Linked DNA regions of Homo sapiens: regions 2 and 3 are each linked to region 1. Evidence: promoter capture Hi-C in human tissues and cell types (Jung and others, 2019). All regions are on one chromosome and are shown on one strand. Each heading gives the region's core, a stretch centred on a gene start or on the middle of the fragment in contact. The rest is flanking DNA. Distances are from core to core; before and after follow the strand shown. Region 1 holds the start of STAP2 (signal transducing adaptor family member 2). Region 2 holds the start of MAP2K2 (mitogen-activated protein kinase kinase 2). Region 3 overlaps ANKRD24 (ankyrin repeat domain 24).

Region 1 (2,508 bases), core at 5-2,504:
GCGGTGGCTCATGCCTGTAATCCCAGCATTTAGAGAGGCCGAGACAGGTGGATCACCTGAGGTCAAGAGTTCAAGACCAGCCGGGCCAACAAAATGAAACACTGTCTTTACTAAAAATACAAAAATTAGGTGTGGTGGTGCGTACCTGTAATCCCAGCTACTCGGGAGGCTGAGGCACGAGAATCGCTTAATCGTTTGAACCTGGGAGGTGGAGGTTGCAGTGAGCCGAGATGGTGCCACTGCACTGCAGCCTGGGTGACAGAGTGAGACTCAGTCTCAAAAATAAATAAATAAAATAAAAGCCAGAAGAGGCAGTGCATGCCTGTGGTCCCAGCTACTCAGGAGGCTGGGGCGGGAGGTTCACTTGAGCCCAGGAGTTTGAGGCTACAGTGAGCCATGATCGTGCCCCTGCACTCTAGCCTGGGTGACAGAGCAACTCTGTCTCTAACAAAAAGAAAGAAAGAAAATGAATATGCGGCATTGGGAAGGAGAGATAGGGCCTCACGGGGAACGGAGGGGCTGGGACTTTATTCTGAGGGAGACATAAGCACACACACACACACACATGCACGCACTGTCCATGGCAACTATCTGTCCTGTGGAATGTGGCCCCCGCTAGCTCTTACTGTCCTCACATGTCACCTGTCCTGGCCTTCGCCCCAGCAGCTGAGGTTCACGGAGTTTTTCCTGGGCTGGGAGCGGGAGGAAGCTCGGGAGTCAGAGGACTCCCCATTTCCTGGAGGAAGTCCCTGATCTTGTTTGTATTCAAGAGAGTGAACGAGAGACAAAAGCAAAGATTGAGACAAAGAGAGAGGGAGACTGAGACAGACATCGGGAGAGACAGACGGGGCCAGGGAGAGAGAAAGAGAAAAAGAAACCAAATTCAAAGACACACGGAGACAGAGATAGACGCACAGAGAGGCAGATGGCCAGAACCCACCCCAGTCCCCCAGCACGTGTCCTGCCCCATCCAGCACCCACCCCGCCCCCCCTTGGCGAGTGGGGAGACAGGGACTCAGAGAGGTGCCGCAGCTCCCCACGGTGGCCCAGCAGGGCCAGCCCCCGCCTCCCCACCTTACCCGGTCACAGGGCCCCTTCTTCTCTAGAAAGCTCTCATAGTAGTGTGAAGGCAGGACACCCTTAGGCTTGGGGACACGGGGTGGCCTCAGGGCAGAGGCCATGACGGAGCCAGGGTCTTCCGCCTGGCCTCTCCTTCCAGTGGGTGCCCCAGCTGGGCCGGGAAGCTGAGAAACAGGTTTCAGGGGAGTTTCCTGTGTCAGCCCGTCAACTCCCTCCCCTGCCAGGGCTGGGCAGAGGCTGATCCCAGCAGGTCCAGTGATCCTAGGGAAATCCCCGCCTCTCCGGTGTGGAACTGAGAACAGAGAGAATGTATAAGTCTACTTGAATGGGAGAATAATCTTCGCTATATCTGCAAAGACAGAGACATGGTCTGTCTCTTTATTTATTTATTTATCTATTTTTCCTATTTTGAGACAGAGTTTCACTCTGTTGCCCAGGCTGGAGTAAAGTGGTATGATCTTGGCTCACTGCGACCTCTGCCTCCCGGGTTCAAGAGACTGCGCTGCCTCCCGGGTTCAGAGACTGAGTCCAAGCTCAGTCTCCTGACTAGCGTGGATTGCAGGTGACCGCCACCACGCCTGGCTAATTTTTGTATTTGTAGTAGAGACGAGGTTTCCCCATGTTGGCCCAGGCTGGTCTCGAACTCCTGACCCCAAGTTTTCTGCCCGCCTCAGCCTCCCAAAGTGCTGAGATTACAGGCATGAGCCACCACACCTGGCCCTTTCTCTTACTTTGATGGACCCTAATGATTACATTGGGCCCACCTGGATAATCCACGCTACTCTCCCTATTTTAAAGTCAGCTGACTAGCAACTTTAATTTCATCTGCAATTTTTCTTTTTTAGACGGTGTCTCATTCTGTTGTCGATGCTGGAGTGCAGTGGCACGATCATAGTTCACTGCAGCCCTGACCTCCCAATCTCAAGCGGTCCTCCTGCCTCAGCCACCCGAAGAGCTGGGACTATAGGTGGGCACCACCACACCCAGCTAATTTATTTTCCTTTTTTAAGGATGAGTTCTCACTATGTTGCCTAGGCTGGAGTACAGTGGGGCGATCATGACTCACTGTAGCCTCGACCTTACAGGCTCAAGTGATCCTCCAGCCTCAGCCTCCAGAGTAGGTGGTACTACAGTTGCATGCCACCACACCTGGCTAATTTTTTTTTTTCTTTTTTTTGAGACAGACTCTCGCTCTGTAGCCCAGGCTGGAGTGCAGTGGCGTGATCTCGGCTCACTGCAAGCTCCGCCTCCCAGGTTCATGCCATTCGCCTGGCTCAGCCTCCCAAGTAGCTGGGATTACAGGTGCCTGCCACCACGCCCAGCTAATTTTTACACTTACTAGAGACAGGTTCTTGCTATGTTGCCCAGGCTGGTCTTTTTTTTTTTTTTTTTTTGAGACAGAGTCTTACTCTGTCACCCAGGCTGGAG
Region 2 (2,508 bases), core at 7-2,506, 210 kb before region 1:
ATTGAGGGACCCTTACCCCGTCTTTTCCTACCAGGGACCCTACCCCATCTCAGTCTCATTACTCAGGGACCCCTCACCCCATCCTCTCCCCTCTGGAGCCCCCTTGCCCAGATTTCCTCCTCAGGGGCTGCCTGACCTCCCCACACCCCATCCTCTCCTCTCAGGAATGCCCTGCACCCCGATTTCCCTACTCAGGGTCTCCCCTCACCCTCATCTCATGACTACGGCAACCTTTACTCCGTCCTTTCCTCTTAGGAACTCTTCACCCTCATTTCACTACTCAAGGACCCCACACTGTGTTCTCTCCTCTTAGAGATACCCCTCACCCCGATCTCACTGCTTGGGGAGCCTCATCCTGTTCTCTCCTTGGGGACACCCCTCATTCCGATTTTCCTACTGAGGGACTCCCCTCACCCCAGCTTCACTTTTCAGAAGCCCCACACCCCATCTTCTGCACTGCAGGGACCTCCCCTCACTCAACCTCGCTGCTCAGGGACCCCTGTCCCCATCCTCTCCTCTTAGAGACATCCTTCACCCCAACTTCACTACTCAGAGACTCCCGTTATCCCAATTCCACTCTTCAGGAACCCCACACCCCATCTTTTCCACCACAAGGACCTCCCCTCGCCCAATCTCACTGCTCAAAGACCCCCCTGCCCCGTGCACCCTTCGCCCCGTCCTCCGAGGGCCCCCTGCCCCGTCCTCCCCCGAGGGCCCCCTGCCCCGTCCTCCCCCGAGGGTCCCCTGCCCTGTCCTCCCCTCGAGAACCCCCTGCCCCGTGCACCACTCACCCCGTCCTCCCCCGTGACCCCCCTGCCTCGTGCACTCCTCGCGAACCCCCGTCCCCTCGCCCCGTCCTTCCCCGAGGGCTCCCTGCCCCGTGCACCCCAAGCCTCCGGCTGACCCCTGCCCACTCACTCGGAGGCGCCCTCGCTGGTAGGGGATGGGCCCTCGGCGATGGTAGGGTTGATGGTGAGCGCCGGCAGCACCGGCTTCCTCCGGGCCAGCATCGGGGCTCCGCGGGCCGGCGGCGGCGGCGCCTCTAGCCGGGGCCCATAGGGGGCGGGCCGGGAGCGGTCGGCGCCTACGCGAGCCCGGGGCTGCGGCCGCGGCCCAGGCCGGCGTCGGGGCGGCCGAGGGCGGGCGGCGCTGCGGGCCTGGGCCGAGGGTAGCCGAGGGGCGCTGGGGCTGAGGCGAGCGAGCCGCTACCGCTGCCGAGGCCCGAAGAAGGCTGACGCCGCAGCCCGAGTCCGAGAGGCAGGGGGAGGGGAGGGGCGGCCACAAGATCGCGGACCGGCTTCTCGCGATAACGGGATCGGGAGCCGCGATGGACCCCACCCCCAGCCGCCGCGCCTGCGCAGCAGCACAAGGCCGCCTTTCGGAGGGGAAAGGGGCGGAGACCGACGCGAGGCGGTGCCGGGACCGGGCGCCCTCGCTTGCCTTACCACGGCGCGTGTGCCCAAGCGCTTGGGGCATGAGGCGCGGGAGCAGGGGAGGAGACGGAGGGATGAAGGCTGGGGTGATGGTCGTGCACAGGTGGGCAGGGTAGCCAGACTCCTGAGAGCCTGTGGTGCCCCAGGCTGGGGCTGAGAGAACCCGTAAGACCCCAGAACAGTGGACGAGACCCACCCAGAGTCCATTTAATCTTTTTGGCAAGCGTGGACACACGCCCCTAGCCCCCACCGCCTTAGAGTGTCAGTTACTCCCCCTCCTTCATCAGAACAAGGCCACTCTAAAACATTTTTAAAATTTATTTTAATTGACAAATAAAATTGCATATATTACTATGCGCATGTTGAAACATTTTTATTATAAAATACACATAACATAAAACTTGTCATTTTAACCATTTCTAAATGCACAGCTCAGCGGCATTAAGCAACCACCACCACCACCATCTCCAGAATTTTCTCATCTTCCGAAACTGAAACACTGTCCCCTATGAAACCTCACTCCCTATCCCCCTCCCCAGCCCCTGGAACCCAACGTCGTACTTCCTGTGAATCTGATGATTCTAGGGACTTCATATGAGTAGGATCACACAGGTTTTGTCCCTTTGTGGCTGGCATATTTCACTGAGGGCCACGTCCTCAAGGTGCCTGTTGTAGCTGTGTTAGATCCACGTTGTAACCTGTGTTAGAATTTACCCACTTGACTACTCCGGGCATACTTCCAATCGGGTAGCCCTGCTCCAAAAAAGAGCAGAAAAAAAAAAAAAAAGAAAAATTTCCCTTTTTTTTTTTTTGAGACGGAGTCTCGCTCTGTCACCCAGGCTGGAGTGCAGTGGTGCGATCTCGGCCCACTGCAAACTCTGCCTCCCGGGTTCACGCCATTCTCCTGCCTCAGCCTCCCGAGTAGCTGGGACTACAGGTGCCCACCACCATGCCCGGCTAATTTTTTTGTATTTTTAGTAGAGACGGGGTTTCACCGTGTTAGCCAGGATGGTCTCCATCTCCTGACCTCGTGATCCACCCGCCTCGATCTCCCAAAGTGCTGGGATTACAGGCG
Region 3 (2,508 bases), core at 6-2,505, 140 kb before region 1:
GATCCTTTCTGCAGGGAAAAAAGGAGAGAAATACTAGGGTTTACGGACTTTGCTAGACTCAGAAACTCATCACAAGTAGTTGACATGGCTTGGGGAGCAGCTGGGAGCTACTTGAATAGCTGGAGCTCCAGTAAATCTTCTTTCCTTCCCCAGGTTACAATGCCCTCCACCTGGCCGCCAAATACGGGCACCCACAGTGCTTGAAGCAACTACTGCAGGTCATTTACTGTCTTATCTCAGCTACTCCCTTGGCCCCTACTACTCCTGAGTTCCAGCAATTCCTTGAACCCCCAGATGCTCTATGAATCCTAGATATTCCTTGGCCCCTTTTACTCCAGAACCCTAGCTACTCCCTGGATAACCAGGTACTCTCAGACCATCCACATGCTTCTCCTATTTAAGATGTACTCCCAAGCCAGGCGCGGTGGCTCACGCCTGTAATCCCAGCACTTTGGGAGGCTGAGGTCGGTGAAATCGCCTGAGGTCAGGAGTTCGAGACCAGCCTGGCCAACACAGTGAAACCCCGTCTCTACTAAAAATACAAAAAATTAGCTGGGAGCGGTGGTGTGTGCCTGTAATCTCAGCTACTAGGGAGGCTGAGGCAGGAGAATCCCTTGAACTTGGGAGGCGGAGGTTGCAGTGAGCCGAGATCATGCCATTGCACTCCAGCCTGGGCAACAAGAGCGAAACACCATCTAAAATATATATATATACTCCCAATGCCAGGTATTTCCTGAGCTCTGTTTCTCCCCAAGCCCTGGGTCCTTCCTTAGCCCCAGACACTCCCAGAGTTCCCAGCCACTCCTCAAATTCTCAGCTGCTTCTCAGCTCTCAGCTATTTTCTTTTCTCACCAATTTTCATGAAAATGGAGTCCCTTGGGGGCCACGGAAGGGTGAGGCTGAAGTATAGCAGAGCCCAGGGTAGGGAAGGCAGTCCTAGAGAAATCAGGCAGCAAGAAGGATGGCTCCGCCTCAAAGGACTCGCCCCATCCCCAGGCTTCCTGCGTGGTGGACGTCGTGGACAGCAGCGGGTGGACTGCCCTACACCATGCAGGTGGGTGCAGCCCAGCCCTGCCCTGACCCCGAAGCCCAGAGGGTGCTAGACTTGGGGGTTATTCTGCCCAGGGCCCTAGGGACCTGACCTGCTGTGAAGCTTCCTGTCTCCTCCTTTCTTTCTTTCTTTTTTTTTTTTTGAGACGGAGTCTCACTCTGTTGCCCAGGCTGGAGTGCAGTGGCAAGATCTCAGCTCACTGTAACATCCATCTCCCAGGTTCAAGCAATTTTCCTGCCTCAGCCTCCCGAGTAGCTGGGACTAGAGGCACCTGCCACCACACCTGGCTGATGTTTTGTATTTTTAGTAAAGACGGGGTTTCACCATGGTGGCCAGGATGGTCTCGAACTCCTGACCTCAGGTGATCCACCCGCCTTGGCCTCCCAAAGTGCTGGGATTACAGGCGTGAGCCACCGCTCCTGGCCTTCCTTTTCTTTTTATGAGATAGGGTCTTGCTCTGTTGCCCAGGCTGAAGTACAGTGGGGCAATCATGGCTCACTGCATCCTTGACCTCCCGGGTTCAAACGATCCTCCTGCCTCAGACTCCCAAGTAGCTGGGACCACAGGCGTGCACCACCATGCCTGGCTAATATTTTAAATTTATTTGTAGATACAGGATCTTGCTATGTTGCCCAGGCTGATCTCAAACTCCTGGGCTCAAATGATCCTCCCACCTCGGCCACTCAAAGTGCTGGAATTACAGGCGTGAGCCACCTCACCTAGCCTCCTCCTTTTTTTCTTGACATAGAATCTCCCTCTGTCGCCCAGGGTGGAGTGCAATGGCGCAATCTTGGCTCACTGCAACCTCCACCTCCCAGGTTCAAGCAATTCTCCTGCCTTAGCCTCCTGAGTAGCTGGGACTACAGACCTATGCCACAACACCCACCTAAAATTTTTTTGTATTTTTAGTAGAGATGGGGTTTCACCATGTTGGCCAGGCTCATCTCGAACTCCTGACCTCAGGTGATCTGCCCGCCTCGGCCTCCCAAAGTGCTGGGATTACAGGCGTGAGCCACCGTGCCGGCCCTTCTCCCTTTTTTTTTTTTTTTTTTTTTTTTGAGGTGGAGTCTCGCTCTGTCACCCAGGCTGGAGTGCAGTGGCGTGATCTCGGCTCACTGCAAGCTCCGCCTCCCGGGTCCACGCCATTCTCCTGCCTCAGCCTCCCGAGTAGCGGGGACTACAGGCGCCTGCCACCATGCCCGGCTAATTTTTTTGTATTTTTTAGTAGAGACGGGGTTTCACTGTGTTAGCCAGGATGGTCTTGATCTCCTGACCTCGTGATCCGCCTGCTCGGCCTCCCAAAGTGCTGGGATTACAGGCGTGAGCCACCGTGCCGGCCCTTCTCCTTTTTTATTACCTACTGTGTGCCAGGCACTGGAGCCCATCATAAATCCCGGTTACCCTTTGAACCACAGGCTATTAGCCCATTGCACAGATGAGGCTTGATGAGGCTTAAT

Evidence for each region. The method cuts DNA at HindIII sites, captures the fragments that hold promoters and counts their contacts. A contact is called where the count stands out against the background at its distance.
Region 2: the fragment with the promoter of MAP2K2 here is called in contact with the fragment with the promoter of STAP2 in region 1 in 1 of the 25 tissues and cell types used here (dorsolateral prefrontal cortex).
Region 3: a contact is called between a fragment that was not itself captured here and the fragment with the promoter of STAP2 in region 1, in 3 of the 25 tissues and cell types used here (dorsolateral prefrontal cortex, mesenchymal stem cells and pancreas).

The regions. Positions count from the first base shown.
Region 1 is chr19:4,337,573-4,340,080 of GRCh38, forward strand. STAP2 (signal transducing adaptor family member 2) reads right to left here and starts at 1,255. Exons shown (of 13, transcript NM_001013841.2): 1 at 1,080-1,255. The coding sequence starts at 1,181. The HindIII fragment of the contact is 19,957 bases long and covers 1-2,508 here.
Region 2 is chr19:4,122,866-4,125,373 of GRCh38, forward strand. MAP2K2 (mitogen-activated protein kinase kinase 2) reads right to left here and starts at 1,257. Exons shown (of 11, transcript NM_030662.4): 1 at 919-1,257. The coding sequence starts at 1,010. RefSeq lists silencers at 850-1,099, 1,290-1,409. The HindIII fragment of the contact is 9,633 bases long and covers 1-2,508 here.
Region 3 is chr19:4,201,873-4,204,380 of GRCh38, forward strand. ANKRD24 (ankyrin repeat domain 24) reads left to right here. Exons shown (of 22, transcript NM_001393985.1): 6 at 154-218; 7 at 997-1,054. Among named protein-coding and RNA genes, the nearest start is that of ANKRD24, 20 kb to the left of the region's middle. The HindIII fragment of the contact is 4,087 bases long and covers 1-2,508 here.